Linked DNA regions of Homo sapiens: regions 1 and 3 are each linked to region 2. The links are contacts of gene promoters, found by promoter capture Hi-C in blood cells and fetal thymus (Javierre and others, 2016). All regions are on one chromosome and are shown on one strand. The core of a region is centred on a gene start or on the middle of the fragment in contact, and the rest is flanking DNA. Distances in the headings are between cores, read along the strand shown. Region 1 has its middle 76 kb from the start of BMP7-AS1. Region 2 holds the start of SPO11 (SPO11 initiator of meiotic double strand breaks). Region 3 has its middle 100 kb from the start of BMP7-AS1.

Region 1 (2,700 bases), core at 134-2,633, 190 kb before region 2:
CATCTTCCCGTCGTCGCCTTCTTGGAAAAGCAAGCCCGCTTCTCCTGTGCGCCTTGCCCGCTCTGACAGTGAGGGAGGCTCCCTCGAGCACCCTTTAATTTCTCGGATTATTCAAATTTGCCATGCCCACCCAAACAAATGGGAGGTTTTCTGGAGAGAACCAGGGTCCATCAGAGGGGGGTATCAAAACCAGCTCAGCTCTCCAGTGTGGGAAATGAGTTTCTAGGCCACCAGACAGCTTCCTACCAAGCACAGAAGGCCCGTCACCTCTCCACATTCAAGTGACGGAAGTGGAGGAGGAATGAACCACAGGAAAGCAGAACAAGAAGCAACTGGTCTCCTTGCGATGTTCAGTGAGAGTTGAACATCAATTCTGTTACCAAGTATTGGTTCAAGTGAATCAAAGTCATGTCTAGCATCTATAATTTTTTTTTACATTGCAAAGGATTTTCCCCTGTAAGAGTTTATTTTGGTGTTTCACAAAGGGTGTTCTGAACATTCCTGGTAGCACGTGAGATGATTTTAGGCGAGACACCAACAAACATTTTTATTTTATTTATTTATGTTTAAACGTATTTTAAAAACATAGCAAGCATATCACACATGACAAAGACAATTGCTTAAGTCGGGGCTAAAGTAAGTATTTAAATGAGAAAAAAGGGGTACGGTTGATTTAAATAAAATGTTAAAGAATAATACAGTCATTTGGTTGGTGAAGGTAAAAATTGTGAAGGTGAGTGAAGTTTGGGGAACACTGGCTCAGCTGACGGCCACAAGTTCTGGAGAAGCCATTTGATCTGCTGCGATTGTCTCCAGGTGACAGATGACAGAGTGGAGACGGAGAGTGGCACCAAGTATGTGCCTCAAGTTACACATACACCCATGCGGGGCCAGGGCAAAAACACTGGATTTTATTTTATGTTATTTTATTTATTTTATTTTTTGAGACAGAGTCTCACTCTGCTGCCCAGGCTGGAGTGCAGGGGTGCACTCTCAGCTCACTGCAACCTCTGCCTCCCAGGTTCAAGCCATTCTCCTGCGTCAGCCTCCCAAGTAGCTGGGATTACAGGTGCATGCCCCCACACTTGGCTAATTTTTGTATTTTTAGTAGAGAAGGGGTTTCACCATATTGGCCAGGCTGGTCTCGAACTCCTGACCTCAGTGATCCACCAGCCTTGGCCTCCCAAAGTGCTGGGATTACAGGCGTGAGCCACAATGCCCAGCCTGGATTTTAAGCTTAGTTCAAAAGTCTTTTCACTCCCTCAAACTGAGACATCATCTGTCACTCTAAAATGTGATCTTTGAAAACTCACGCCAATGTAGTATTTCTCAAAACTGCTCTAGAAACAGAGAAAATATAATAAAATGTAATAACTGTCTCCTTTTTTCCATTGGTCTTTCTATAGCAGTGGTTCTCAACCAATGCATATTTTGTTTCCAGGGGACATTTGGCAATATCTGGAGACATTTTTGATGTCACAGTTGAGGGGTGGGGAGGCAGGTGGTGGATAGAGACCAGGGATCCTGCTAAAAGCTTCCTATAATACCCAGGACACTGCCCTCCCCCCCGCCAGACAAAGAAGCATTCAGCCCCAAATGTCAATAGTGCCCAAATTGAGAAAACCTGGTCTATAATCACCATGACCCATTTCATTCACAAAGTCAAATCTCAGACTGAAGGATCAGAAATCTGTCTCCTGGCTGGACACAGTGGATTACACCTATAATCCCACCACTTTGGGAAGCCAAGGCAGGAGGATCCTTGAGGCCAGGAGTTTGAGACCAGTCTGGGCAACATAGTGAGACTCTGTCTCTAAAACAACAACAACAGCGACATCAACAACAAAGGAAAGCTGTCTCCCTGTTGTGCTCGTGACATTTGCTCAGAAATTAACATTTTCGTGGCTGAAAAAAATAGGAAATGTTTTCTCAGGAATAGTTGTTGTATAATAATATCTCTAATACACACTAGCATTTATGGAGCCCTCTTGCTGTGCCAGACACCAGCCCAACAACTTTGCATGAAATTCTCACAACCACCCCATGAGGTAGGTACAGATGAGGAAACTGAGGCACAGAGAGGTTAAGCCATTTGCCTGAAGCGCCACAGCCTCTGCTTCAGAGGCAGGATTTGACCCCAGGCAGTCTGGCTTCGGAGCCTGCACTGTTATTCAAAACAGTATGTAGTCTATGTTGTAAGATTATATATTTTCTATGGGACACACTTTAACGACTTTCATTATTAAATGGGAAAAAGAATGCCACACATAAGATTTTTATTTTTCCTGAGTCGGTCTTCATGAAGAAAGAGGACTCACCACTGTTTCATATCATTCTCCTTTACTGCAGTTACTTCCCCTGCAATTTCCCTGTTTGGCCTTAATTTCCTTTGAGTCCTCGAGTGCCACGTAAACTAGGATTGGAAGAGTTCATGGAGAGGGCTTCTGTTCAGCTTCCCAGGCCCAGGACGGACTGCCGGCTTCTTGGAGCGGAGCTTTCAGGCTTGGGGTACACGGCACGCTTTAGAACTGTGCACGTCTTCACTTTTATTTCCCGGGAGCTAAGTTCAGCTGGCACTTCTTCCATGCCAGGGGCTGTGCAAATGCTTCACAGGTGTGACTTCGTTTCAGGCCCAACTCTTTTTTTTTTTTTTGAGACGAAATTTTTGCTCTTGTCGCCCAGGCTGAAGTGCAATGGCGC
Region 2 (2,700 bases), core at 125-2,624:
AGAGGGAGAGGAGCTACATAAAATACAAGATGCCAGTTAAGTTTGAATTTCACATAAACAATGAAATAACATTCCTTTCTCTGCCATCGTGGTGTGTGCTTGACTCCACTTCTCGCCATGTCTTTCCCACAAGACTTTTGGGATTAAGCAATTCCTGGCCAAGAAACAAAAGCAAAATCGTCCCCAGTGGATTCGGATGAAAACTGATAATAAAATCAGGTACAACTCCAAAAGGAGACATTGAAGAAGAACCGAGCTGGGCCTATAAGGAATTGCACATGAGAGGGCACACATATTTATGCTGTCTGAAGGTCACAGTCATGTTACCACATCAAGCTGAAAATGTCACCGCTCTCTGGAGAGTTGTACATGTTTTATTGAGAATATATTTTTTCTCTCTGAATCTGTGATGAATGCGTTGGTTGGCTGGGTTCAGTAATAAATATGTGAGACCTTTCACTTAAAAAAAAAAAGAACTATTTTTTTTTTTTTGAGAAGGGATCGCCCTGTGTTGCCCAGCCTGGAGTACAGTGGCTATTCACAGGCACAATCCTAGCGCACAGCAGCCTTCAACTCCTGGAGCCTCTAAATCCATCCTCCTGCCTCAGCCTCCCTAGTAGCTGGGACTACGGGTGAGTACCACTGTGCAAGGCTACAAAATAACTTTTTAGTAAAAGTATATCCCAAACTTTATACGAGACGTAGTTACTCTAAAAAAAAAAAAGGATTTGCTGTTTATCTGAAATTCTAATTTAACTGGTTGTCCTGGATTTTCTTTGCCAAATTGGTCTGCCCTACGGAGTGCGAGGGCTGGGATTTTAACCCAGGCCTGCCTGCTCTGAGCTGACCTTTCCTGGCACCTGCAAAATTAGGATGACACGTTAGGAACTTCCTGGGGTTCTTAAGGGAATTAGAAGAGGGACCTGAGTGCAAAGGGCTTTGGAGGCATTCAACTGCTATGAAACGTTAGTAAGGACAGGGATTGCGTTCACCTCAATCACAGCTGAACCCATTGCCGAGAACTGTTATCCCACACAGCTGGATCTTCATCATTATGTGTTTTAATGAAAAATCGCTGATATTGCTGTCCCTAAATAGCCAACCCCCAAAATAATTAAATCACCTCAAGGGACTCTAGGTCCAATATCCGCAGCACGCCACACAAACATCTCTCAGCTCAGCCACGCAGGGCCGATGCCTGCGCGACCCACACTCAGGGAGGCGCCCGCCTCAGGGCCTCACAGGTGGGACCGCGCCTGAGAGCCCTGCGCTTGCGCACTCCACGCCGTGCTCTACGCATACGCCTGTCCAGCCCCGCCTCTGGGTGTGTGGCGTGGGCACGCCGGCCGCTCAGAAAGCGCGGGAAAGGCACGCAGCCACGCCCCAAGGGCGCAGCCTAGGACAGGGGCTTCTGGAGCTTCTGGCAGCCGTCTGCCCTCATGGCCTTTGCACCTATGGGGCCCGAGGCCTCGTTCTTCGACGTTTTGGACCGACACAGGGAGTCCCTGCTGGCTGCCCTGAGGAGAGGTGGCAGGGAGCCCCCAACTGGGGGAAGCCGCCTGGCCTCCAGGTACAGGAGCTGGTGCCGAGGCGCGACGCAGCCACTCTGTAGAAAAGTCGGGCGCTCTTCCTGGCCCCGGGCTGCCTCCTAGTGTTGAGGCTGAGGAGGCACCCCTTGGCGGGCCAGCCAGGAACCCCCAAAAAGATCCTTCCTGAGTACCCGTGACCTGCTTTGAACCCTTATTTTGAACTCAAAAAAGAAAGCCAGGTGGCAGCCCCCCTTCTGTGGCTTCTAGGATGTTCCCCTTCTAGAACGTTCCAGAGGCTCCCTGCAGCTGGGTTGGAAGGTTTCCTAAGATCCTTATAGGTTGGGGAGTTTGGGGTACAGTTAGCTTTGTATTTTTTAAACGTTTTTTGGGATAAAATTTTTGGTTAAACTTTAAGGGTTTTTTTTGGTTTTTATTTTTTGGTTTTTTTTTAGAAAGAAAATGAGTGTTGTATGTCTTCTCTCAGTAAGCGAATGGTTTTCTCAGAATTAACAAGGACATCAACACATTTTAAGTGGTTTATAATAAGACAACATGTTTAATTGTTTTGCAAGTGGAGAGAATGTACATATTTTAAATGATTTATTTAAAATCAATTACAGGAACCCTCCAGCTATCCATGTTAGAATTAACCACAGAAAACATGACTACGTTATTGACCATTTTCACTTAAAAATACTTTATTTTGTTTCCTCGACTTGCTTTCTTGGTTGAGCAAAGTTTTTCAGCCTTTTATTTTTAAGCCCAAACCAACCACCAAAAAATCTGAAAAACCTACAAACAAACCAATTTTTACAAAAGAATTTATTTTGAGGGAGAACTTGGGAGAGTGAGGGAAAAGGAGAGTGGCAAGTCCCTTGTTAATATCGCAGATGTAGACGAATCTGATTGTATCTTAAAGTTGGTTACAGTATTATCCTGCAACACTTTTTTTCTCCAAACTAGGAAAAATGAGTATTTGGGTCAGTTTTTACCTCCCAATATTAGAATAGATTAAATGTTTTAAAATTCATTTTCTGAAACACAAGTTTTCAGTAAAAATTCTGAAGTTCCTGTGGAAATTAAAACTCTCAACATTTTGCCCGTTTTCTAGAGTGCATTTGATTTCTCTTCCTAGACAATAAGCTCATGGTGTTTATAACAGAACAACATT
Region 3 (2,700 bases), core at 158-2,657, 220 kb before region 2:
GAGCACACATCAGAAGCTGCCTGGGCACCCATCCAGCTCCCCCCGACAGGAGCCACTCTGATCCTCAATTTCCTCAAATATACCACAGGAATGGGAGACATTTGGGATTTTCATGATGATAATAAATGTAAAATTTTAAAAATCACACTTGGTACATAGTAAATGCCCAATCAATTATTATTTAGTCTGGTCCATGCTCCTTACAGAGAGATAGTGTGTGGAAATTCCTGGAAGCAAAACAGCATGACATCTTCAGGGATGTTCAAGCAGCAGGGAGCAGGGGATGCGGGGAGGGGCAGGCCCAGGCTGCAGGGGCAGACGGATGGCCAGACCTCCAGCAACCTCAGGCCATGCGATGAATGTTATCTCAGGGCCACCAGAGGGTTTGTGCAGGGGCATGATGGGGGCACATTTCCATTTTAGAAAGCCCATCTGGAAAATCCAGAAAGAAAGAGGCCAGAGAGGAGACTGTGGAGTAATCAGGAGAGAGACGATTGGGACCAGAACCAGGCTGGCTGCGCTGGCTTGGAGGTGGATGGCTACAGCTTGGGCATATCTGAGATGCAAGGGTCCAGGAGCCATTGCTTCACTGTGAGGGGTGAGGGAAAGGAGGCAAGGATAACTCTGTGGTCCTCGAGGATGCCTGAGGAATCATTCACTGAGCCAGGGGACTAGGCCAAGGAAAACTGTCATGCCCATTTCTGGGTCCACTTTGGCCCACTGGTGCCATAAGCCTTGGTGCCAAGGCATGGCCACCATGTTCCAGGTGTGGTATGAGCCATGAGGACTCCAGCAGCACCATGTCCTCCCTTGTTCCCCACACCATACCTCCATGAATGCAGCCCACGTGAGGGGTTAAGAGGGAGCTGGGCCCATTTCCTCAGCCAGCTTGTCTCCTCTCAGTGGCCTGTAAATGGTCCTCGAAAGAGGAAGACGGCCGGCCAAGGTTTCTGCAGTGAAGGTCTCTTTCCTTCCTAAAGAGACAACCCGGGGCTTGAACGCCGGCTGCACTAGCACTGCTAAATGATCTTGGGCAAGTTCCTGATCTCCTCTGCTGTTTCCTCGTCTTTAAAATAAAGACAATCAAAGGAATTTAGACATGAAAAGTCCTTTGTATCCAGGATGCAGTAGAGGCTCTATCCACTGTAGCTGCATTGTTGCTCTGATGGCCGTTGGTACTGGTGGTGGTGGTGGTGATGGTTAGTGTGATGACTGTCGATGAAAAAAGTCAAAGTCTGAAAAATATTTAAGGAGATTTATTCTGAGCCAAGTATGAGTGACCAAGGCCTGTGACACAGCCCCAGGAGGTCCTGAGAACATGTGCCCAAGGTGGTTGGGTTACAGCTTGATTTTGTACATTTGAGGGGGACAGAAGGTACAGGCAGACATCTATCAATACATGTAAGGCGTACATTGGATTGGTCTGGAAAGGTGGGACAACTCGAAGTGGTAGGGAGGCTTCCAGGACATAGGTGCATTCAAAGATTTTCTGATTGGCAATTGGTTGAAAGATTTCAGTTACTATCTAGAGACCTGGAATCAACAGAAAGGAGTGTCTGGGTTAAGATAAGGGGTTGTGGGGACCAAGGCTCTTACTCTGCAGATGAAGCTCCAGGTAGCAGGCTTCAGAGAGAGTAGTTGGTAAATGTCCCCTATCAGATCTAAAAAGGTGCCAGACCTCTAGTCAATTCTCTCTGGAATCAGTGAAAAGACCTAGAAAGGGAAGAAGATTCTCTGCAGAATGTAGACTGTCTCCATCTCCATCTCCATCTCCATCTCCATCTCTTATGTCTTCTCCACAAGAGACAGCTTTTCAGGGCCACTTCAAAATATGTCAAAGAAATCTATTTTGGGGGAAAATACTTTGATTTCTTTCAGGGCCTGCTATCTGTCATGTGATGCTATGCTAGAGTCAGGTTGGAATTTGGTATCTTATCGCTACAAAGAGCCTGTTTTGTCAGTCTCAAGGTCTCTCTGGTTTAATGTCAATGCTGGTCAGCTGTGCCTGCACTCCAAAGGGTTTCATGAGGCATGTCTGACCCCCCTGCCCATCATGGCCTAAACTAATTTTTTGGGTTGACTTTGGAAAGTCCTCGGCCAAGAGGAGGATCCATTCAGTCAGTGGGAGGCATAGAATCTTATTTTAGTTACACATGATGGTGGTGTTTTTGGTGGTGGTGGCCCTGGCAGTACCGGCGGTGTTGGTGGTGGTGGTGGTACTTGTGATGTTACTGTTTGTGGTATTGTTGTTTGTATTGCTGCTGGTGGCCCTGGCAGTACTGGTGTTGGTGTTGGTGGTGGCCCTGGCAGTACTGGTGGTGTTGATGCTGGTGGCCCTTGCAGTACCAGCAGTGTTGGTGTCGGTAGTGGTATTTGTGATGTTAGCGTCTGTGGTATTGTTGTTTGTATTGCTAGGGGTGGCCCTGGCAGTATTGGTGGTGTTGATGGGGGTGGCCCTGGCAGTATTGGTGGTGTTGATGGTGGTGGTGGTATTTGTGATGTTAGTGTTTGTGGTAGTGTTGTTTGTATTGTGGGTGGTGGTCCTGGTGATGTTTATGTGGTTGCTGTTGATGGTGGTAGTGGTGGCACTGGTGGTGGTGGTGATGGTGGTGACGTGTGGCTCCACAGGACCCACTGAAAGGCAAGGATCAGCCTGGCTGCAAACTGAGTTAGCATCTGACTCAGTTGCTTGCTCCTGGC

Evidence for each region. The method cuts DNA at HindIII sites, captures the fragments that hold promoters and counts their contacts. A CHiCAGO score of 5 or more calls a contact.
Region 1: a fragment that was not itself captured here is called in contact with the fragment with the promoter of SPO11 in region 2 in 1 of 17 cell types (endothelial precursors); the score reaches 5.2 in endothelial precursors.
Region 3: a contact is called between a fragment that was not itself captured here and the fragment with the promoter of SPO11 in region 2, in 2 of 17 cell types (M1 macrophages and M0 macrophages). The highest score is 6.3, in M1 macrophages.

Annotation. Positions count from the first base shown.
Region 1 is chr20:57,136,308-57,139,007 of GRCh38, forward strand. No RefSeq gene overlaps it. Among named protein-coding and RNA genes, the nearest start is that of BMP7-AS1, 76 kb to the right of the region's middle. The HindIII fragment of the contact is 298 bases long and covers 1,235-1,532 here.
Region 2 is chr20:57,328,429-57,331,128 of GRCh38, forward strand. It overlaps SPO11 (SPO11 initiator of meiotic double strand breaks), which reads left to right and starts at 1,375. Exons shown (of 13, transcript NM_012444.3): 1 at 1,375-1,570. The coding sequence starts at 1,440. LOC105372687 (a long non-coding RNA gene) reads right to left here and starts at 1,236. Exons shown (of 12, transcript XR_007067670.1): 1 at 993-1,236. It also overlaps the pseudogene RPL39P39. The HindIII fragment of the contact is 5,253 bases long and covers 1-2,700 here.
Region 3 is chr20:57,111,727-57,114,426 of GRCh38, forward strand. No RefSeq gene overlaps it. Among named protein-coding and RNA genes, the nearest start is that of BMP7-AS1, 100 kb to the right of the region's middle. The HindIII fragment of the contact is 6,810 bases long and covers 1-2,700 here.